Linked DNA regions of Homo sapiens: region 2 is linked to region 1. The links are contacts of gene promoters, found by promoter capture Hi-C in human tissues and cell types (Jung and others, 2019). All regions are on one chromosome and are shown on one strand. The core of a region is centred on a gene start or on the middle of the fragment in contact, and the rest is flanking DNA. Distances in the headings are between cores, read along the strand shown. Region 1 holds the start of ATG14 (autophagy related 14). Region 2 has its middle 45 kb from the start of TBPL2.

Region 1 (5,120 bases), core at 2,601-5,100:
AGGCCTACAACTGTGGAGCAGTGAAAAAGAGGGAGCACAAGGATGAACTTATTTGAGTGCGTAATACATTCTAGGCATCATGCTAACCACTTTAAATGCATGCTTTATGTAATCACTACTAGAAACCTATGAAGTTAGATACCCTGCCATTTACAAAATGAAATAAACATGAAGTTAAGAAACTTGCTCAGGGCCAGGCATGGTGGCTCACACCTGTAATTCCCGCACTTGGGGAGGCTGAGGCTGGTGGATGGCTTGAGCTCCAGAGTCCAAGACCAGCCTGGGCAACATGGCAAAACCCTGTCTTTACAAAAAATACAAAAAAACTAGTTAGGCGTGTTGATGTGCGCCTGTAGTCCCAGATACCAGGGAGACTGAGACAGGAGAATCGCTTGAGAACAGGGAGGTCAAAGCTGCAGTGAGCTGTGATCTTGCCACTGCACTGCCTGGGTTACAGGGTGAGACCCTGTCCCCTCCCCCCTCAAACAAACTTCCTCAAACTCACATAGCAGCCAGGCGTGGTGGCTCATATCTGTAATCCTAACACTTTGGGAGGCTGAGGCAGGAGGACTGCTCAGCCCACAGGTTCGAGATCAGCCTGGACAAGATAGGGAGACCCTGTCTCTACAAAAAATTTAAAAATTAGCCAGGTGTGGTGGAGCATGCCTGTAGTCCCACCTACTCAAAAGGTTAAGATGGGAGGATTGCTTGAGCCCAGGAGTCTGAGGCTGCCGCATGCCATGATTGTGCCAGTGCACTCCAGCCTCGGTGACAGAGCAAGATCCTGTCTCAAAAAAAATAAAATAAAATAAATCACGTACCAAGTGGTAGAGCTTGGAATCAATTCAAGGGAGCATGAGTCAAAAGCCCACATTTTAAACTCAACCTTAGAGTCTAAATTAGAGAGGCAAACAGTAGCCAAATCACATGAGGCTTCGTATGCCATAGTAAGGAGCTTGGATTTTATTTTAAATGCAATGGGAGCCAATGAAAGGTTTAAGCAAAACAGTGACATTATCTTATTTACATTTCTATTGTGGCTGCTGTTTGGAGACCAGAGGCAAGGTAAGGAAGAGTTGTCTGACTAAAAGAAGGGAGATCACTACGTAGTCAGGAGAGAAATGATGGTGGTCTGAACTAAAACTCGGATAGATTCAAGATATATTTTCACATCAAAGTGAATTAGACTTGCTGAGTTTTGGATGCAGAGAGGAAGAGAAAAAGAAAAGTATAGGATAACTCCCAGTTTTCTGGCTTTAGTAACAAATGGATCATGATGAATAATACTGAAACGGTCTAGAAACTGAGTTTGGGAAAGAGGGACAGAGTCAGTTCAATCATTCCATAAATCTTTATTGAGTTTCTACTATGTGAGAATACAACAGTGTATAAAAGAGAAAAACTCTTGCCCTCATAGAGTTTATATCACTGGGGTGGGGGCAGTTAGACAAATTAATATGTACAACCATCACATGGTGGTAAGTGTTATGGAAAAGAAAAGATAATAAAGCTGGTTAAATACGCATGAGGTTAGCATTTTAATAGAAGGATCAGAAAGAGTCTAACGTATGAGCAGGCACCTAAAAAAAAAAACAAAGGAGGCAGCCCTGAAGATTTCTGAGAGAAAGAGTTCCTGGCTGTCTAAATACCACTGCGAAGGTCCTGAGGAAGGAGTGTTCTTGGTATGTTTGAGGACAGACAAGGAGGCCACAGTGGCACAGCAGATTAGGTAAGGGAGAAAATAATAGGAGATTAAATCAGAGGAACAGATAATATAGAACTTTGGTTAAGGACTCCAGCTTTTACTTTGGGTAAAGTGAAAAACCACTGGAAGATTTGAACAGAAATGGAGGAGTAGCATAACTGTGGCTGCAATATGGAAATTGTACAAAAGGGGAGCAAGGACGGAAGCAGAGACATAAGAGGAAATAAGTTTATGTCTCTGGTAGATTGGACCAGGTGATGGTGAAAGGGTAAGATTTAAGATAAGTTTTGAAGAGTAGATGGGATTTGTTGTAAGATAAGTTTTGAAGAGTAGATGGGATTTGTTGATGGGACTAAACAGAGTTGGGTTAAGAGAGGAGTCAAGGAGAACTGAAAGGTTTTTTAGCCTGAACCAAAGGAACAATGAGATTGACATTTACTGGGTTGGGATGAGCATGGGAAAACAGATTTATGATGGAAAACAAGGAGTTCAGTTTGCCATATTAAAATGAAGATATCTATTACAAATCTAAAAATATTGATGTTGAATAAGCAGCTGTTTTCTGGACTTTAGAGAAGACTAGGTTGGAGATACAAGTCTGGCAGTCTTAAGCATATAGATGGTATTTAAATTATGTGAATAGACATAGTAAAACGTGTAGACAGACAAGAAGGTCCAGAACCAAATCCTCGATTCACTCCATCAGTTAGACATTTCCATCTCATACCCCGTATTCTTATAACTGGTTTAATTTTTAAAGCTATCACTTACTACATAAGCAGTTTCTAAAGTCATCAAGAGCACCAATAAGACACAGCAACAAAACTAAAAAAGAGTTTGTCATTCAAACCTCCTCAAAAGAGAAAGGAAAGAACTCCATCCACGATCACAGAAATACTAAGAACTCAAAACATTCCCAAATATAGAGGATATAAAGTCTAGTGGTTAAGTGCGGGTACATAGGTCCAAGCTGTCTGAATTTTAATTCTTGTACCAACACTTAACTATTTGTGTGACCTGGGGCAAAGCACTTACTGTGCAGCTTCCTAATAAGTTGGGGATAAGTCATTCGGTTGTTGCGAATGAATTAATACCTGAATTTTTGTGCTCAGAATGCTAGCTATCTTACTATCATTGACTATCATTGACACTAAATTGTTGAAACATAAGTTGAGAGTGGGAGATCCTGCAGCTAATCACACTAATTTTTCAATTTTCTTAACCAAGAACTTGTAGCTGTTTAGATTTCGAAATGAAACCAAAACATTTTCCTAAAGGCAATTCTCTTAACTAAAAGCATGCAGCTCCCAATCTGAATTTTAAAACAAGGCCAAAACACGTTCCCAAATTCCTAAGAATCTAAAATAATCTTTAGAGGCAGGGAGGGGAAAGGGGCGTTAACAGCAAGCCTCAATTCACACATTAGAGTAAGCATGTCTGATAACAAAGTCCATCTGTGACAGACTACCAGGCCCAAATCCCTCTAAAGCAGTTATTTGATTCTCTTCTACTCTCTCCTCTAGAGAATGAGTATAAATATGCTTTCGAAAATAGAAAGCCAAGCTTTTGAATGGGAGTACATACAGCAAAGAGCTGGGAATCTAACTTAATGGCAGCAACGGGAAAACTTCTCCAGAGAGTCACCACTTATTCCTTTTTTCCCCAGTGACCAAGAGCACCGTGGGGTCAAACTCCTCTTGGGTGGGTGATGGGGAAACGGCGACCTTCCCTCATCTGGCCCCTACGCTGTCCTCTGGTAGCAAAGCTCCGGTGCAGAGCAGCTAGCTACACTCCCTCTCTCTCGCTCCTCTCGCTGGTATCTGGTGCCCGGACGGGGAGCCCCAGGTTCCAGCCTTCGGCTGCCTGGCTGGAGGACACACAGCAGAAGAAACAATAGGGCCGTGGCGGCCGCCGTACCTCTCCCGGTCGCGGCCGTCGAAGTAGACGAAATCGCCGCTCTGAACGCATTTGGCGCAGGTCAGCCGCCGGCGGGTAGTGTTGCACAGCGGGCAGCGCTCCACAGCCACGTACAGCCCCTCCGCATCGTCCACGGAGTCCACCAGGTCCCGGGCGAGCGGCCGGGGCCCGCAGCCAGGAGCCTCCAGCGCCCGGGCTCCCTTCCCACTGGGAGACGCCATGATGGCCTGAGAGGAGAGCCAGTCACGTGGGATTTTGTTTTCAACCGGGTGCATTCTGGGCCAGGAGGAGGGGCCTGGGGAAGGGGGGCTGGGATGCCGGCGAGCCCCCGGACCCCTCCGCCGCCGCGTGTTCCTGTCCCGGGCACTGTTGTTTTTCCGGTCTGCTGAGGGGCAACAGGTCCCGAAGCAGGGGGAGAGTTATATTAGAGGGGCTAGTCGGCCAAACAAAATGTCATCTGCTGGCTCAGGCCAAGACTACGAGTTAAAGCCTCAAACTTGTGCAGAAAATTGTAATACCATACCCTAAGGATTCTGGGAAAACGGAATGGGAGCGGAATAAGGGAATTTAACTTGCTGTGGATGCTTTAAAATCTGGCTAAACTACAGCAAACAAAGTAGGGTGAAGGGGCTGGGTCTTGGAACTAGGTTGAATTTTGGCTCACTCACCTGCTTAATAGCTGTGTGACTTGGGGCAAGTTCCTTAATCTCTCTGCGCCTGTTCTCTCGTGTTAAATGGATAGAATTATAGTACCCATCTAATGCCGTGAGGATTAATATGGTTAATAGTATTATACTTTACCAATAGTGAAAACAACCAAAGTGAACGTGCAAAATCAGAATTGTATCCTTCTGAAAAGTTAATCACGTGGCTAACGTACCTTCCCTACCCTGGGCCATGCTCTAAGAGAATTTGAACTAGGTAGATGGTTAGGACTTCCCTTCAAGTTTCTTTTGGTGGATAGGGGATATATAAGGTGATGTGTTGGGAGGATCATATCAGAGTAATTAGTGTTTGAATATGCCTCTAAACTACAGAGAAAAGTGAGTTTATAGGTGAGATTAAATAGACCAGTGATTCTCAAGGATGATTTTACTAGGCTATCTACTGATAAACTGCCCTGAATTCTCTCTCTAGCCAGGATTCCTTTCTCAAGTTCCATACCCAAAGATCCAGAACTACTTACTAGGTATCAGGTGACATTCCAGGACACCACAAACTCAAAGTGTTGGAAACTGACTTCTGCCTCCCTACAAACCTGTTTTCTTACTTTGGTAAAGGACGTAATCACTGATGATTTACAGCCAAGAGCCATGATTCATATTAGCCCGTCCCTCCCTGTTAATCTCCACATCACCATCGAAAACTGGTGATTCTACAAGCTAATTAGGTCTTGAATCTGAGCCCTTTGCTCCTCCGTCTTCTTAATCTTACCCAGTCTTTTTAAATACAAATCACGTAGGATTACAAAAACAAGCAAAAGCAAAAATTCTCTATA
Region 2 (5,528 bases), core at 2,451-4,950, 75 kb after region 1:
ATTCGGTGGCACCATACCACTATTTGACAACATTTGAAGCAGACAGCACACTGGAAACTAGAGAATCGATCGATAAATTAATAACATTCAATTTCAAAGATTCATTGTATTTCCTCTTCACTCTTTTCATCTTTGGTTGCTTGTGGGAAATCAGAATACCCACAGATTTACTTGTCCCAACATGAATAGACTCACATTCTTTGGATTCTTGTTCACTTTTTATGTTTGTGTTGTTCTCAATTATAGTGTGTCTATTACTACTTTCATTACTACATCTACACTTCAATGAACAACTTTTAAGCTACCCTTTCACTTTTGTGATTTGGACATAAATAGACAAATAGTAGTTTCAAAATATGCGTACTCAATACACACAAATACCATTTAAATGGTATGAAAACACACTCTCTGAGACAAAACATACTCTCTGATATATCACATTAACCAAAGGTAAGCTAAAGCAAACGGATTGAAGTAGTCCTTGTAACATATTTACAACTTCAAGGATGTAATGATTATTATGCATGGAATGGGATTCATAGGGACATCATATTTAATTACATGAATACCGGTCACATTTTAAAATGTTTAACAGTTTATTAGGTTTTGCTTGAAGCTTTAAAGTATGATAAGTTTCAGATGCCAAAAGTTCTGAGACCCTCATGTAGAAAGTTTAAAGTAGGTGTTCAAGAATCAATAGATTCTTGTTCTGCAGTGCTGTGAATGTTCTTTTTTTCTACACTGTCCAGTGCAGTAGCCACTAGTCACATGTGGCTATTGAGCACTTGAAATATGGCTAGTGTGAGTGAAGTTTTAATTTTATTTACTGTTTATTAATGTAAATTTAAATGGTGGAGGACAGCACAGGGTCGGATATGTCTGAAGCCCTTCACCCACACCAAGAATGTAGACGGGTCATGAAAGGAAGAATTGGAGAGAGCTGTAACATGGATTCTCCAACTCTTTGGATTTCCTTCAAAGAGTAGAGCTGGTGCATGGATGCACCTCATTGAAGCCTGGTGAAATGAGCTCTGTTCAGAAATGTAAAGGATGAGAGAGGGGCTGGCTATCTGCTGACACGCAAATCAAAGTTTACTGGGACTAAGGCAGCCTGAATGTTTCCCAAGGCCTAGGGTGTGTGTGTGTGTGTGTGTGTGTGTGTGTGTGTGTGTGTGTGTGTGTGTGTGTGTGGTATGGCGTGTGAGAGAGAGAGGGAAAGGGAGGTGTGAGTACCTATCCCAGATACTGTATGATAGGGCTTCCTGGACTGGTGATCAGGACCTAGCCGAGCAATTCTGAAGCTATCACCAGGTTTCCAGGAAGGCCATAGAAGGAATAAAGGGACCAGACAAATTTGAGGTGTGATTACTCAGGTCAAGGAAGCTGCAAGCAAAAGTTCTCCGATTGGGAAGTCTCTGAAGAAACCATGAAAGTTACCCACAAACGAGGGTCAGCTTTAAACATTTGCCAAGACCAAAGTTTTCAAGGCCATCTTAGGTCAATTAGGGGGACGTTCCCTGTCTTCCTTGTCTCTTCCTCCCACCCACTCCCCTCCTTGCCTAAGGGGTCAGACATGGTTAGTATGTAGGACAACAGGGAGTGTCTGAGCCCAGATATTCTACTTCTGACTAAAGTCTGTTTGGGTATTTCAAGTCAAAGTATGGATTTTTAGTTCCTAAAAGCAATCAGAAAAGTTGTAAGACTGCCTGGGTTTCATTCAGAGGAAGAAGAACTTGCCCCATCTAATGAATTTGAAGGGGTAGTGAAAGGCAAAATTAAATTGCTTCATGATTATGGCTCATGAGTCCAGCTTGTTCAGTATTCTAGGTATATATGTGAACAAAAGTTTCATCACTTTTTCCTCTGAAATAGACCACTAGAAAGCCACTCTGGTGATGTACCTGTGACCCTGAACTGGAATACTTGGGTAAATAATGATCTTACTTGTTTTTATTAATTTTTCTTAAATGTATGTATAGCTCATATTTATTCCAATGTCCAACATTAGAAGTGTTTTGGGTCTTCATTTAGAAGTTTGGTGATTTTTTTTTTTTTTTTTTTTTTAGACAGAGTCTTGCTCTGTTGCCCAGGCTAGAGTGCAGTGGTGCAATCTCGGCTCACTGCAACCTCTGCCTCCTGGGTTCAAGCGATTCTTGTGCCTCACCCTCCCAAGTAGCTGGGATTACAGGTGTCCGCCACCAAGCCTGGCTAATTTTTGTATTTTTAGTAGAGATAGGGTTTCATCTTGTTGGCCAGGCTGGTCTCGAACTCCTGACCTCAGGTGATCTGCCCGCTTAGGCCTCCCAAAGTTGGGATTATAGAAATGAGCCACCACACCAGCCTGCGGTGATGTTTTTGTTCCAGAAATATCAGTTAGCCTAGGAAAAATTAGTTTTGTTATACATCATTTTGCTTCAAGTCAGTTTCCAAGAACCTATCAATGACATTAAGTGAGGGCTTCTTGTACAATTTTGGAGCCCTCCCCTCTTTTTATTTATTTATTTTTTTTAATTTTTTTTTTTTTTGAGACGGAGTCTTGCTCTGTTTCCAGGCTGGAGTGCAGTGGCATGATCTCGGCTCACTGCAACCTCCGCCTCCCGGGTTCAAGTGATTCTCCTGCCTCAGCCTCCTGAGTTGCTAGGATTACAGGCACTTGCCACCATGCCCAGCTAATTTTTGTATTTTTAGTAGAGACAGGGTTTCACCATGTTGGCCAGGCTGGTATCGAACTCTTGGCCTCAGGTGATCCGCCCGCCTTGGCCTCCCAAAGTGCTGGGATTACAGGTGTGAGCCATCGCGCCTAGCCTTTTGGAGCCCTTTTTAAGAAAAATTGTTTAAAATTGTCCTGCTTTTTCACAGTTTACAAAAATATACGACCAGATGAATGTATTGGTAGGATCTGCCTTCTCCCCCCAGGCTAGGGTCTTGGAAGGAGCTTGTGTAAGTGAAGGGTTCTAAAGCTTAAGCTTCTTTAGTTTCATGGTAAATTAGTCTCTGGCAGCCTTTCTGTTTTTGGGTATTGTTGTATTTATGGGACAACTGGAACTGTGGCAGCCATCTTGGGACCATGAGGAAAGTCAGGTTAAGAGGACAAGCCAAGATGCTGAGGGCTGCACAGGGCAAAGAGAAAAAGAAACTTGTTAGAAACACTGAGCGCCTAAATTTCTCAACCTTGGAAGCCTTCTAAGTGCAGACTTCTTGGTGAAATGATAAATATATTAATGTTTAAGCCTCTCTCCAATAACTTGTAGGCAAAGACATCCAAACAAAAACTACCACCATGCACTCTCTCCATTGTTTCATACACATTCACACATACACACAAATAACCCTAAATATGTGGAAAGGAGGTAATCTCAGAATATACGATGATCCTTTACATCAAATTAATTTGCTTTGTGAAAAACTCAATTCATTGTCCTACCTTTTCTCATTGGCTGTATACCCAAGGAAAACTTTATCGTGGCATTTGGGAAGCACTGGTCTAGACCAGAGATACTCAACAGTGTGGTTCATGAGCTAGGGTCAGTCCCAACTGTTCCTTACCAGCCTATCATGAGACAAGCACAGAGATGGAGAGGAAGAATTTAGAAATTTTTTGTAGCATTTGGAGATGTGACAGAGTAATTTTACATCTATTGAATTATTAAAAATTGGGGGGCTTGTACTTTGTATATATTTTTTTCCTAATTTTATTTTTATTTTATTTTATTTATTTATTCTGAGATGGAGTCTTGCTCTGTCGCCCAGGCTGGAGTGCAATGGTGCAATCTCAGCTCACTGCAACCTCCGCCTTCCAGGTTCAAGCAATTCTCCTGCCTCAGCCTCTTGAGTAGCTATACAGGCATGTACTACTGCACCCATCTAATTTTTGTATTTTTAGTAGAGATGGGGTTTCACCATGTTGACCAAGCTGGTCTTGAACTCCTGACCTCAGGTGATCTGCCCATCTTGGCCTCCCAAAGTGTTGGGATTACAGGCATGAGCCATCGTGCCCAGCCTATTTTTCCTAATTTTAAATAAACTTTTAATTTTAGAACACTTTAAGACTTACAGAAAAACAATGAAGTAGTACAGAGGGTTTCTAAACACCCCACAGCCCGTTTCCCTTATTATTAACATCTGACTTTAGTGTGGTACATTTATTACACATAATGAACAAATATTGACACATTATTATTAATGAAGCCCATACTTTATTCGGATTTCCTTAGTTTTTATCTAACGTCGTATTTCTGTTCCAGAATCCCATCCAGGACACTATGTTACCTTTAGTTGTCGTGTTTCCTTAGGCCACTCTTGGCTGTGGCAGTTTTTCAGACTGTCTTTGTTTCTGATGGCCCTGACAGTTTTGAGGAGGACTGGTCAAATATTTTGTAGAATGTCCTTCAATTGAGATTTGTCTGGTATTTTTCTCATGATTAGTATGCTTTTTTTTTTTTTTTTTTGAGACGGATTCTTGCTCCGTCTCCCAGGCTGGAGTGCAGTGGCGTGATCTCAGCTCTCTGCAACCTCCGCCTCCTGGGTTCAAGTGCTTCTCCTGCCTCAGCCTCCCGAGTAGCTGGGATTGCAGGCGCTCACCACCACACCCAGCTATTTTTTGTATTTTTAGTAGAGGTGGAGTTTCACCATGTTGGCCAGGCTTGTCTTGAACTCCTGACTTCAGGTGATCTGCCCGCCTCAGCCTCCCAAAGTGCTGGGATTACAGGCGTGAGCCACTGCACCTGGCCTGCTTTGTTTTTTAATTTGATTTTTCTAGTATAGTAATCTATTTTCATTGTATCTACTAAAAGTGTCAGTCTGCAACAGATTAGGAAAAAATAAAACAAAATTCATTCCTTCCTACAGATAGTTTGAGAAGCACTGTTCTAAACCACTATTGTTCCAGCCTTAGTATTTCATATTCTCAATTTCTCCCAGCGAAATCATTGGTTTATTCTGAATACAATTCTGTCTTCTCAGTTAAAGTATTAGGCATAGGGCTTCTAAATTTGAATCTTTAAGAAAAGGTAAATTACCTTTTTAAAAGAGTCTCTTTTTTTGGCAGTAAATCCTGGACGTCTTACAAAGCATTCGAAAGAGCACACAAACCCCCAGCTATGAAGGAAACAGAAAATGTATTGTTTATAAGTCAAGATCTTTATCCAAGGGGCTTTAATAAAATTTAAGCCACAAGTTCTAGAAATATAGAAACCAGAGCATAGCCACAGTGACGACTTACTGCATTCTGATTTGTGTTGCCTAGTTGCCATGTGTTTTTATTTTTCTTTCTTTCTCTCTTAGTTCCACTATAGCAAGTACTTTGAGCATTGAGAGTCAAAGTTTTCTTATTATTTCATATTCCTCAGTAGGTCATCACTGTCATCTTCTTCTTTTAAAAAATGTCTTCCCTGATGTACTCATTTCGATTATATAAGGAGTCCCCAAAACCTTCTTTCTTTTGGGAGTCTCTCTTTGATCCTTGTATTCAGAAACCTTGCTATAAAGAGGCTGCTTTGGGCTTTGATGATAAAAGCTTCACATGGTGT

What was found. The method cuts DNA at HindIII sites, captures the fragments that hold promoters and counts their contacts. A contact is called where the count stands out against the background at its distance.
Region 2: a fragment that was not itself captured here is called in contact with the fragment with the promoter of ATG14 in region 1 in 2 of the 25 tissues and cell types used here (pancreas and thymus).

What each region holds. Positions count from the first base shown.
Region 1 is chr14:55,407,980-55,413,099 of GRCh38, forward strand. It overlaps ATG14 (autophagy related 14), which reads right to left and starts at 3,851. Exons shown (of 10, transcript NM_014924.5): 1 at 3,623-3,851. The coding sequence starts at 3,843. It also overlaps a transcript of FBXO34 not described here. RefSeq lists a silencer at 3,841-4,140. The HindIII fragment of the contact is 14,251 bases long and covers 1-5,120 here.
Region 2 is chr14:55,483,197-55,488,724 of GRCh38, forward strand. No RefSeq gene overlaps it. Among named protein-coding and RNA genes, the nearest start is that of TBPL2, 45 kb to the left of the region's middle. The HindIII fragment of the contact is 3,824 bases long and covers 1,789-5,528 here.